Regions from separate parts of the Homo sapiens genome. Here regions 1, 2 and 3 are each linked to region 4. The links are contacts of gene promoters, found by promoter capture Hi-C in blood cells and fetal thymus (Javierre and others, 2016). All regions are on one chromosome and are shown on one strand. The core of a region is centred on a gene start or on the middle of the fragment in contact, and the rest is flanking DNA. Distances in the headings are between cores, read along the strand shown. Region 1 holds the start of PGGT1B (protein geranylgeranyltransferase type I subunit beta). Region 2 holds the start of ATG12 (autophagy related 12). Region 3 holds the start of CCDC112 (coiled-coil domain containing 112). Region 4 holds the start of DCP2 (decapping mRNA 2).

Region 1 (2,700 bases), core at 186-2,685, 2.3 Mb before region 4:
AAGCCTTTTACCGACCTAGGAGGCATTCTGTATTATCTCTGAATGAGTCCCACATTGCAAATTTTTCCTCTAGATTTGGATCAGATTGCTAGTCCTTGAGCTGAGAATCAGATGAAACATTTGGCTTCCCTAACTTAAGGGCCATGTTTATTAGAATTAATTTTCTGAGAATGTATAGAGTGTCCATAGCTGATTCCAGTAAGTTAAATGTGTATAAGACTCCACTTTAAAAATCTTCAGGCATTTGGGGGTATGTGTGCTAAGTGAGAGATCTTAATTTTAATAACAGTGGAAACTCCAGACTGGGCACACCTGAAGGGCAAGGACTGTGAGCTCCGTATTTGTAGGGAAGTACCGAGGACAGCCTAGAATCCGTCTGTGGCTGTTAAATGCGGCATTTTGTAAAGACATGCAGGAATACCTGTGAATAAGTAGTTAATAGTACCAAAAATTATTCAGAGCACTTTGGATTGTTGAATAAGTGTAAGATTACCCCAGCCCATAGAGTATAAGAATTACATTTTCTAAGAAAGCTAACAAAATTAAACCCAAAATTTTATTAGCTAAGTTGATCACAGGGAACCTAGTTTAGTTATATTATTGGGTGGATCCCCCCACCCGCTACTCAGGAATGCCTCATGAAAGTTTAAAGGGCATAGTATACCGGCTAAACAACTTAAATCCCTATTTTTGGAAAAAAGAACTAGAAGCATGTTTAAATTTTTTAGAATGCAGGTAATTGGAGAAGATATTGAGCTTATTTTGCTGTTGCAGATTGATGCACCATTGATTCTTGATAACACGTCGACTCAAGCAAAGTAAAATCTGTAAGATTTGTAAAAGAATGACGCAAGCAGTCATATATAGGTATGAATATGCATGTTGTATATGTTTGGGGGCATTATACACAGATTTTTAAGTGATTCCTGGTATCCAGAAAGGATTAAGATTAGGAAAGTCTCTGAGCTTTTGTAGTGTCAATAAACATTTATCTCCACTGGTTTGTTTTTCTGTTTCCCTAACCGTTCGGCTTAAAACTGGCCCTCCAAAAATGAATCTGTTAGCAAGTTTATACTGATCCATCCTCGTTTTCAGATATACCATCCTCAGGTTCTACAGAGCCAGAATTGTCTCAAAGCGTACTTGATGCTTTTGACCTTGCGCTTCCCAAGATAAAAATTCTGACGGAGGGATTTGTGGACTTGATTTTCACAAGGCCTGCGAGGTGTTTACAAGCCTCGAGGGCTTTGAGTAGAAAAGGTAGGGTCATGCGCTAGCTAGGGAGATATCGGAGAGAGGAAGTGCTGCACAGGACCCAGATGATAGCGGTTTCAAATACTGGCTTAGTCTGCGGCGGGCGCAGGTCCCCTCACCCGGCACCCTGTGGTTCAGCACAGGAGGGTTCTTTCTCTCCGCGGGCACTGATTCCGGGTCGCGGCGGACGTCGCTTCCGGAGCAGCATGGCGGCCACTGAGGATGAGAGGCTAGCAGGGAGCGGTGAGGGAGAGCGGCTGGATTTCTTACGGGATCGGCACGTGCGATTTTTCCAGCGCTGCCTCCAGGTTTTGCCGGAGCGCTATTCTTCACTCGAGACAAGCAGGTAACTCGTGGCACAGTCAGCCAGGCTGGCACAAGGCCCGGGCTCCAGCGGAAAGGCGCGGCGGAGTCGGACCGCAAACTGGGCGCCGGAAGGGGGCTGCGCGGCCGCCCAGTTGGCACTGACTGGTTTCAAGTGGGCTTGAGGTTACCCCCACTCTCCCGCCGTACGGTGGGAAGGTCTGGAAGGCTGTAGGTCGAGGGCTGTGGCATCTCCAGTTTCCGGCTTTTTCACTTCCCTTTTCTTCTGGCAACTCTGAGCTGCTTTTTTACCCGCTCCCATAGCCTGTCACTTTGCCTCATTACTTCCGAGTGTAAAAGGAAAAGGACAAAGTTTGTCGTCGTATTTTTAGATGAATACTTCTGTGCATCCTTGTCCTCTCTAAAGTCATTAACTCTTAATAGAGTGTCTGTATGGTGTTTTATGTGTAGGAGCGGCAGAGAACCTCTAAGGTCTTAGAAACTTTGTGGGAACTATAAATCTAATGGTAGGCGAAAGAGGTGTGGTGTTGCGTGAAGCAGCCTGTTAAAAGTATCGCAATAGCTGAAGAGTGTGGTGCGGCAGAGACTAAGCGACTTCATTTACAGTAAAAGCTGGGGATGAGAAGAAAGAAAGGAGAAGGCAATCTTTGCTCCGCATTGCTGTGTTTTGAAGTGAAGCTCAAAAGCTGCTTGAGACTGGATGGGAGGAAAGAGCGGCTTGTTTTTGCTGTGTTCTTTCCCCACGTTTTCCAAATTCTGAGTTGCTGGTGTATTTTGAACACTGCATGACCGGATCAGTTTGGGGAGCTTTGCAGATTACTTCTGCACACTTGGTCAAGAACCACATTATGGTAGGTGCCAGAGTACAGCTGAACAAGACAAGCATTTGTATAGAGTTCTGTGCTATATGTTAGTGTAGTGTTCATAGGAGTATATAGACAGGCATGTACATAATCCAGATATCTTTAGAGAGGCCTTCCTTAAACACCCTTCCTAAAGGGACCACTTCCAATGACCACCTCACATTACGTATGTATTGGTTTATTTGTTTAATGTCTTTCTATTACACTGGATTATAAACTTCACAAAGGTAACATTTTCGTCTATCTTGTTTACCTCTAT
Region 2 (2,700 bases), core at 201-2,700, 2.9 Mb before region 4:
ATACTAAACAGTATTTACACGTTAAAAGAGAAGTTCTACAAATGCTACTATTCTTCATAAATAGAAAAAAACTATAAATGAGGGCAAATTCCCATACGTGGAAAAATGCCAAACCAGAAGCTGAAATCATAACTTTTAGGTATAGAACCACAGCTCCAATCAGTCAACTACAAACGTCGCCGGTTACTTCGAGGGTAAATAATTTGCAGCCAGCTGGTAAAAAGCCTGATAAAAATATTAGGTCCTCACATATCTTCCTTTTCAATAAGGAGACACCTGAAAGTCACACTGGGCAGTCTGTCACGTATCGAAACATGCAGAAGAGAGACTGTACAGAACGTGCAGTTATCAAACGCAGGAAGCCAAAGTTCCTGTGCTATGAGAGGACCACAGTGAAAAACGGTAGCCCATCTGTCCAAAGAACAGAAAGAAGTCCACCTGGAAAGGATGGGAGTCGGCGGAGGGGGGCGAGAAGAACGAGTTCCACGCCGTCTTCCTCCTCCCGGGCTAACTGCAGCCGCGGGCGGCAGGAAGGCAGCCGCGCGGGGTGGGCTCTTGGGGACTGGGCGCAGGGCTCCGCGGCGCGGCTGGGCTGCGGCTGCCCGATCGGCGAGGGCCGGGCCCCGGGAAGTCTCCAGGGCCTCGCCCGCGCAGCCAGGAAAGCATGCAGCCCACCGACGGGCGGAGGAACCGCCCGGGCAAAGCCACGTCGGTGGCTGACCGCGCGGCAGGGAGGTGGGCACCCTGTCCACACCCACCAGGAGGCTGACAGCTGGCGAGCGCCAGGCGGCCGGGACGGGACAAGGGCCGCAGCGCGCCGGAGGGGGTCGCTCTGAGAAAGCCGCGCTGGGCGCTGCCCGTCGCCAACGACTCCCCCTCGCCCGGATCAGCGGCGGCTGGATACTCACGTAGGGCTGGTAGAACTTGGAGAGCCGCGGCTTCCCGTGGTTGTTGAAGATTAGGATCGCCTTGATCATGGCTGTGCCGGGCCGACCGGGTGGGCACTGGGGGCCAGGGCGGGGGCGGGCGCGCGAGCCTCGCCTCGTAATCTCGCCTGCGATCCTTCCCCACCCGCCCCCTCCCGCACGCGACCGCGCGCGCTCCCGAGCCGTCGGGCGGGGCCCAAGGGGCGGGGCCTGGGCGGGGCAGGCACTAAGGAAAGCGGAAACATTTCTAGGTCCGAGCCAGCGGCCTAACTGGAGTGTGCGCATTCGACCGAGCACAGACACGTTGCCCACCGCTCCTCTCCCGAGGTCTGTAGTCGCGGAGAAACACATGTTGCGTTACTAACGTTCAGAGGTCTGCGACAGCTTCGATTTGAATGACTAGCCGGGAACACCAAGTTTCACTGTGTAATTGCGTCCCCCTACTCCGGCGCCTCCTTTGCGACGCTCCCTGGAGAAAAGCACGCCCACTGCACGCGCTCAGTCGCTACTTCCGCTCTCGAGTGTCTCCAAGCAAGATGGCGGAGGAGCCGCAGTCTGTGTTGCAGCTTCCTACTTCAATTGCTGCTGGAGGGGAAGGACTTACGGATGTCTCCCCAGAAACAACCACCCCGGAGCCCCCGTCTTCCGCTGCAGTTTCCCCGGGAACAGAGGAACCTGCTGGCGACACCAAGAAAAAAAGTAACTGAATTTATTTCCGGGCAGAGAGGCGGGAGGTTCAGATTGCATCCGAGTAGGGGTGGCGGCCAGTAAAGAAGCAAAATTTAGAGGAGCGCCTGTCCTAGACCTGCATTTTGACCAGTCATCAGAAGAAAAGAAGTGTACTTTTTGATTTTTAAGGCCTTTAAGTTGAGTGTTAAAATACCATCTCTGTCTATCGGTGTAGGGCCTGATACTTGGCTGCCACACTTATTTTTATACTGTATTTTTTTGAGTTGGCCAGACTGCGAGCTCTTTGAAGGAGGGAGGGAGCTGAGTGGGGCGGGGGGAGGGGGGTCTCGGTAATTCCAGGTACTTAACACAGGAGCTAATTATTTGAGTAATGTTTTATGGTGGTAGGGGTGGTCATTGGCAAAGCCTGGATTAGAATTCATGCCTTCCAACTTAACTCGCTTTTGCTTTTTTCCCCCTCCCAGTTGGTTGTGAATTCACTCCTTAAACCAAAAACCAAATTCTTATGCAGAATGAAGACTGCTAAGGGAAAGCTAAAGGCATAGATGTTACCTTTTTAAGAAACACATTTTGGAACCTTTGTGAGTTATTTCATTGCTTGAGTCAGCTATCCTCAACCCTTTATTGCTTGAGAATGTTTCCCTTTGTAAAAGAGATTGCTAAAATTACGTGTTCTAAAGCACTCTGTTTAGAGTTAGAGTTGCCTATGGGAAAAGCAGCATATAAGCATCCTCGATTCAGAGAGGCTGATTTCGTCCTTAGACGTTTTCCCCGTTCTGTCTTAAGATGACAGTGGTCTCTGGCCGGGCGCGGTGGCTCACTCCTGTAATCCCAGCACTTTGGTAGGCTGAGGCGGGTGGATCACCTGAGGTCAAGAGTTCGAGACCAGCCTGGCCAACATGGTAAGACTCCATCTCTACTAAAAATATAAAAGTTAGATGGGTGTGGTGGCGCGCGCCTGTAATCCCAGCTACTCGGGAGGCTGAGGCAGGAGAATCGCTTGAACCCGCGAGGCGGAGGTGGCAGTGGGCGGAGGTCTCGCCATTGCACTCCAGCCTGGACAACAAGAGCGAAACTCCGCCTC
Region 3 (2,700 bases), core at 126-2,625, 2.3 Mb before region 4:
GCCCACCTCGGCCTCCCAAAGTGCTGGGATTACAGGCGTAAGCCACCACGTCCGGCCTCTTCTGCAAAAACTTCCCTCCACAGACTTCCGGTTTTCCTCCCTTCTCACAGATCTCTCCATATTGGTCCCCTTCTCCTCTTGTCCGTGGTCACCTTCTCGGAGTGGCCTAGGCTTAGTTCTCAGACTTCAATTTATACTCACCCTGGGTGAGCTCATTCAGTCTTATTTCAAATATTTTCTATAGGAAGATCAAATTCGTATCTTTAGCTCTCTCTCTCCTGGGCTCCAGAGGCGTTTATCCCGCTGCCTGTTTAATACCTCTACCAGGATGGTCTCTGGAGTCAGGCTGTCTAGATAGGTATCCTACCCTCTACCTGTGTGGCCATGTGATCCTTAACTTTATCACTGAAATGGAGATGATAATAGTACCTACTTCATGAAGTTATTTGTGAAGATTAAATGCAAAAGTGCATATAAAGCACTTATAACAGCCCTGGCATAAAGGAATTGCTCAATAAATACCTATTTGTTTACTTGTTAAAGGTGAAGGAACCTTACCTATGTGTCTAATTCAACAATGAATTCCCAAGGCCTAGAACAGTGCCTGACATATGCTAGGAGCTCCATATTGACTGACTGAATGAATCGATTTCTATAAAGGGGGAAAAGGTAGTACCTACAGAAATCAGCTCAGTTGCCACAGGTTGTCTTGACTGGAAGCGTCATCTGTGGCTTTTTTCCAACTTCCCAGCACTGTATTTTTGGAATCTGTCTTCTCATTGACCAAGTCCTAGGAATGTAACTGTGGCATTCCTGCCTCTGATATCTGGTTCTGTGGAGCAAGCTGGGTTTTTTTCTTTAAAAATCTAAAATATGATTTATTGTTAGAATCCATTGATAATGTTTTTTCATTTAGACTCAGTCTCAGCAGCGCTAAGTAGAAACCTAGAAAGCGGATGTATATTAGGTAAAAATATGTATATATTGACTATAACACGAATAAAATTTAAGGACGATGTAAGACAATGAATTTTCTTGACAGGTATGGGACTGGGCTGGCACAGTCGGTTAAGTGCCCAAAGGGTATATAAACCCGCGACAGGGCAGAGCGCAGCCCCCGCCCCGCCCCGCCCCGCCCCCACACCCGCCCGCCCCAGAACCCCAGACCCGCCCCTCCCCTGCATCCCGGCTCCGCCCGGCACCTTGCCCCTCCCTCGCCCCGCCCCTCCCCGCCTGAATCCCGGCCCCCGCCTCGCATTTCGGCCCCGCCCTGCACCCCAGTCCCGCCCCTCCCGCACCCCCGCACCCCTGCACCCCCGCATCTCAGCCCCGCCCTGCATCCCGACCCCGCCCTACATCTCGGCCCCGCCCTGCATCCCGGCCAAGCCCGCAGCGCAGGGAGCTGTCTGCAGAGGCCAGGGTGCGCCTGCCACGAATCCCCAGGCACCGGTGGCCGCCGCGGCCCGAGTAGCTCGGCGGGTAAACATGGCCGCACTGACGACGGTTGTGGTAGCGGCTGCGGCCACCGCGGTAGCCGGGGCTGTGGCAGGGGCGGGCGCGGCCACCGGGACCGGCGTGGGAGCGACGCCAGCGCCTCAACAGGTAAATCCGGGAGAACCGAGAGCTGCTCTGGCGGCAGGCGAGGGGCTGCAGGCCCTGGCTGAACAGGTGCCCTCTGCAGCGCCGGCGGGAGGCGCGGCGTTCGCCTCCCCTGCTCGGGGCCTGGCACGCGCTGGGCGTTGCTCTTTGTTGGCTTGTGCGTTTAACAGCTTTTGCAGAGCCGCCTCCATGTGGTTTCGGAGTCGAGGAAGACCTGGGTGGGAACCCGGCTCTGCCGCTTCCTAGCCGCGTGATAAGAACATATGCTGTCGGCGACTCACTTTCTTCTCTAAAAATTGGGAATAGTAACATGCACCTCCCGAGCTTTGGACTAACGTTATGTCTGGGGAGCCCCTGGCACAGTGCTTGATTGGAGGGGGACTCTGTGCTCAGTAATTGGTGGCAGCTCTGTTACTGTACCGGCGCTGGGAACACAAGGAGAAAGACAATATGGGATGGTCGGAGGCAGAGGTGTTTCCAGTGATCGGCTTAGGACCGCTTTCTAGGTGGTGAGGACAAGGTATCTTTGTTCAGATGTTATCAGCTCAGCGAGACTTTCCATGATCTCCCTAAAATGAATCGCCTTACGCGGCACACCCAGTCCCTGTTTCTGGTTTTATTTTTCCCCATAGCACTTAGTACCATATATTATATTACATACTTTATTTCTATTGTTTATGTTTCTCCTCACACCCCTCACCCTCCCTCGCACCCCCATGAGAATGTAAGCTCCATGAGGGCAGAAAGTATTGGAAATTTTATTCTTTATTGTATTCCCAGCACCAAGAACTATGCCTGTTGTGTAGTGCCTGGAACGTAGTATGCACTTACTAAATAATTTGTGGATCAATATAAACCTGAAGGAAGGCTGTCATGAGCTGAGGAGAGGTTCCATCTTTTTCCTCCTTTAAGGAAATACAGTGTCTTTACTCGTAGACCTTCAGGAAATTCCACCTACGGCAAATTTTCTCACACATCCTCTATAATTCTCTTTATTATTCTAACTCTGTCCCAAGTATCTCAGGAAAAAATGTAAAATATATAAATATACATAATACGTAAAGTATTTTTAAGTACTATGCTCAAAAAAATGTGTGACAC
Region 4 (2,700 bases), core at 190-2,689:
TTGGGAGGCCGAGGCGGGTGGATCACGAGGTCAGAAGTTCGAGACCAGCACGGCCAAGATGGTGAAATCCCGTCTCTACTAAAAATACAAAAATTAGCCGGGTGTGGTGGCGGGTGCCTGTAATCCCAGCTGCTAGGGAGGCTGAGGCAGAGACTCGTTTGAATCCGGAAGGCAGAGGTTGCAGTGAGCCAAGACCGCACCACTGCACACCAGCCTGGGCAAAAGAAAGAGGCTCCGTCTCAAAAAATAAAAACAAAAAAACAAACAAACAAAAAAAACCCCAAAAAACTCCACAAACACCAGTTCTTTACTTTCCATTAAAAAAAACTGCATGAAGGAGATACAACTACTAAAAGCCTGCCTTTTAAAACATAAACACAGTAACTGTGAACGAAAAGGTGTTATCACTTGTAATCACAATCCACACACACTTGGCGACAACTCCGGGTATCACTGCACTCCAAATTTTACCTTCGGAAAATAAGCATTTTTAAGTATCCTACACGTGTTTGGCTATCTGAAATCAGAGTTGACAAGGGGGAAGAATGCAGAAAATTTCTCATCTGAAGTATACACCCTGAGTTAAAACCCCGCGGTTGAGAATTTCCTTTAAAATAGGATTATTAAGGATAAAAAGAAAAGCAGCGCTACACTTTTTCCCTCTCTCCCCCAAAGACAAGTCCAGGGATGAGAAAAAAAAAGTAATTCCTTACAGGAATTTACAGAGAACGCCACGGACAAATAACACGCAGGCGTCAGAATAAGTCCGAAAATTTGCTCCTTGCGCAGGTCCGCGTACCTGGGATCCTAAGCCTTAAATTACTACCCTGGGGGTCTTCCTTCAGAATCGGGGAATGAGACACAGGGAGGAGGGGGTGCACGGCGTGGAAAAGTCACAGAGGCAGAAAAAACAATGGGAGAGGGAGGCGGCGGCGGCGGCAAAACGCTAAGACCCAGGCTCCGGCGAAGCGGCTACGCCTGCGGGAAAGCAAAATAGTTGAGTAACTTAAAAAATGAGGAAATTCCGGGTGTTCTGCGGGGAAGGACGGAGGGCCTTGAGAAACAGGGAGGCTGCGGCGGAAAGAGGGGCGGTGTCGTCGGAGAGCAGGGTCGACGATGGAAAGCGAGCAGCGGCGGGAGCGGAAAGCGAGGACATGGACGTGGGCGGGGAAGAAGACCCAGAGGCCTCTGGGGGTCCGCGAAACTGAGAAAACCCGACGGGGGCGAAAGGGGGTCGGGTAGCGCGGTACCTGCAGAGATCGTCCAGGACGCTGCCGGGAATCTCCACCCGTTTGGTCTCCATGATGAGGACCCACAGCAGGAACAGTGCATCCCGGCTCCGCGCGGCCGGGGACTGACGGTACGGCACTAGGACTCCGGCTCGCCGGAGAGCTGGCAGCCGAGGAAGCCGCGGCAGAGACGACTCCAACGGAGACGAGAAGGGGAAGGGGCGGGACCCGCTCACTTCCGTCCCGCTCCCTCAGCCTTGGACCCCAAGACTGGGCCAAGGCTCGGGGCGGAGCCCCCGGAGTCACGCCCCTGCTCGCTTGAAAGGCCCAATGGGAAGCTGAAGAATTGGGACTCTAAGCACTCTAAGCCAATGAGACGTTTGTTTATTGGTCTGCTACTTCCAATCCGTCTTCAAGCTGCTCAGTTGCTACTCAGAAAACCAACTTCCCGCCGCCTTTGAGGTGGCTACACGCATGCGCACCATGCCTCCTGCGCGCTTCTGGGAAGTTCAGAGGGGTCGGGGCTTAGGTGTAGACCCCGGACACATATCCGGGACTTTGGCATGTTGTGCAGGACCTCGCGGTGACTGAGCTCTTTCCTCTGCAGGGCCGACCCTGAGAATCCGTACAACACAAGAGTATGCTCGCGATTCCTGTCACCAAGTATCTTGCACTTATCGCAGCCCCCACCAACTCCAGGCCAAGAGCTGTGCCTCTTTCACTACAAACCCTTGGAGAGGGTATCCATTTTGGAGGTGGCTCTCCTCTGTGCTTCCTTAGGCACCTGGTTCCAAACATGAAGACAAGGACTTTATCTCAGTATCTGGCACCTAGCAAAATCTTAGAAAATACTGATTTAAGCTGAACTCTGATCTGTATTCCACCCTCTGCACAAAGCAATCCCCACCTGCTCGTCCTTATTCATTCCTCGTCTTGCTTAATGGAGACCAATCCATTTGGGATCTTTGGAGAAACTAGATCCATCTGTTCTTTTTCCTCTTACATCAGACCCACAGGCCCACACACACCTGCTCCGTCACAAGTTTAGTCTGTTCTACCATTTAATCTCCCATCTTTTGTCTAAATTTGTCACATGCCACTGTGTACTTCAGTTTTGCATCATTTCTCCATACTACAGTGAGAGCTGCCTAACCACTGACTCTGCCTCCATTCTTGGCCTGTGCAACTGCCTACATTTTGTTTTGTTTTACTCAGATAGGAACAAGTTATCTTTTCAGTTTCTGCTGTATGATCAAGCCCAAGTTCCTTTGGCATAAGAGGCCCGTCACCATCTATTTTGCTCCCGTTTTCCATCTTTTTTTTCCCCTCTTTCTTGGAGAATTCCTCAAATTTATCTTCCTGACAACTACAGAGTTTTTACTTATTTAGAGTTCTGTTTTGTTCTTCAAATGCCCCTTTCTTGTGGTGTCACATTCTTGCTTTGTATATTTTATTTTATCCTTCTGAGGAT

Evidence for each region. The method cuts DNA at HindIII sites, captures the fragments that hold promoters and counts their contacts. A CHiCAGO score of 5 or more calls a contact.
Region 1: the fragment with the promoter of PGGT1B here is called in contact with the fragment with the promoter of DCP2 in region 4 in 5 of 17 cell types (total CD4 T cells, total B cells, activated CD4 T cells and 2 more); the score reaches 8.1 in total CD4 T cells.
Region 2: a contact is called between the fragment with the promoter of ATG12 here and the fragment with the promoter of DCP2 in region 4, in 3 of 17 cell types (neutrophils, total B cells and total CD4 T cells). The highest score is 10.5, in neutrophils.
Region 3: a contact is called between the fragment with the promoter of CCDC112 here and the fragment with the promoter of DCP2 in region 4, in 2 of 17 cell types (fetal thymus and M0 macrophages). The highest score is 9.3, in fetal thymus.

What each region holds. Positions count from the first base shown.
Region 1 is chr5:115,261,612-115,264,311 of GRCh38, reverse strand. PGGT1B (protein geranylgeranyltransferase type I subunit beta) reads left to right here and starts at 1,435. Exons shown (of 9, transcript NM_005023.4): 1 at 1,435-1,600. The coding sequence starts at 1,461. RefSeq lists enhancers at 1,317-1,366, 1,397-1,576. The HindIII fragment of the contact is 10,345 bases long and covers 1-2,700 here.
Region 2 is chr5:115,840,315-115,843,014 of GRCh38, reverse strand. ATG12 (autophagy related 12) reads left to right here and starts at 1,450. Exons shown (of 4, transcript NM_004707.4): 1 at 1,450-1,625. The coding sequence starts at 1,463. AP3S1 (adaptor related protein complex 3 subunit sigma 1) reads right to left here and starts at 1,080. Exons shown (of 6, transcript NM_001284.4): 1 at 909-1,080. The coding sequence starts at 977. RefSeq lists enhancers at 234-443, 1,434-1,483, 1,494-1,793, 1,182-2,083, 2,087-2,587 and silencers at 534-723, 824-1,203. The HindIII fragment of the contact is 16,491 bases long and covers 1-2,700 here.
Region 3 is chr5:115,295,329-115,298,028 of GRCh38, reverse strand. CCDC112 (coiled-coil domain containing 112) reads left to right here and starts at 1,375. Exons shown (of 10, transcript NM_001040440.3): 1 at 1,375-1,602. The coding sequence starts at 1,486. It overlaps LOC105379129 (a long non-coding RNA gene), which reads right to left and starts at 1,101. Exons shown (of 5, transcript XR_948684.3): 1 at 681-1,101. RefSeq lists a silencer at 1,277-1,726. The HindIII fragment of the contact is 8,729 bases long and covers 1-2,700 here.
Region 4 is chr5:112,975,537-112,978,236 of GRCh38, reverse strand. DCP2 (decapping mRNA 2) reads right to left here and starts at 1,439. Exons shown (of 11, transcript NM_152624.6): 1 at 1,251-1,439. The coding sequence starts at 1,303. RefSeq lists enhancers at 989-1,098, 1,209-1,258, 1,269-1,358, 1,429-1,478, 1,014-1,773 and 2 more. The HindIII fragment of the contact is 6,686 bases long and covers 1-2,700 here.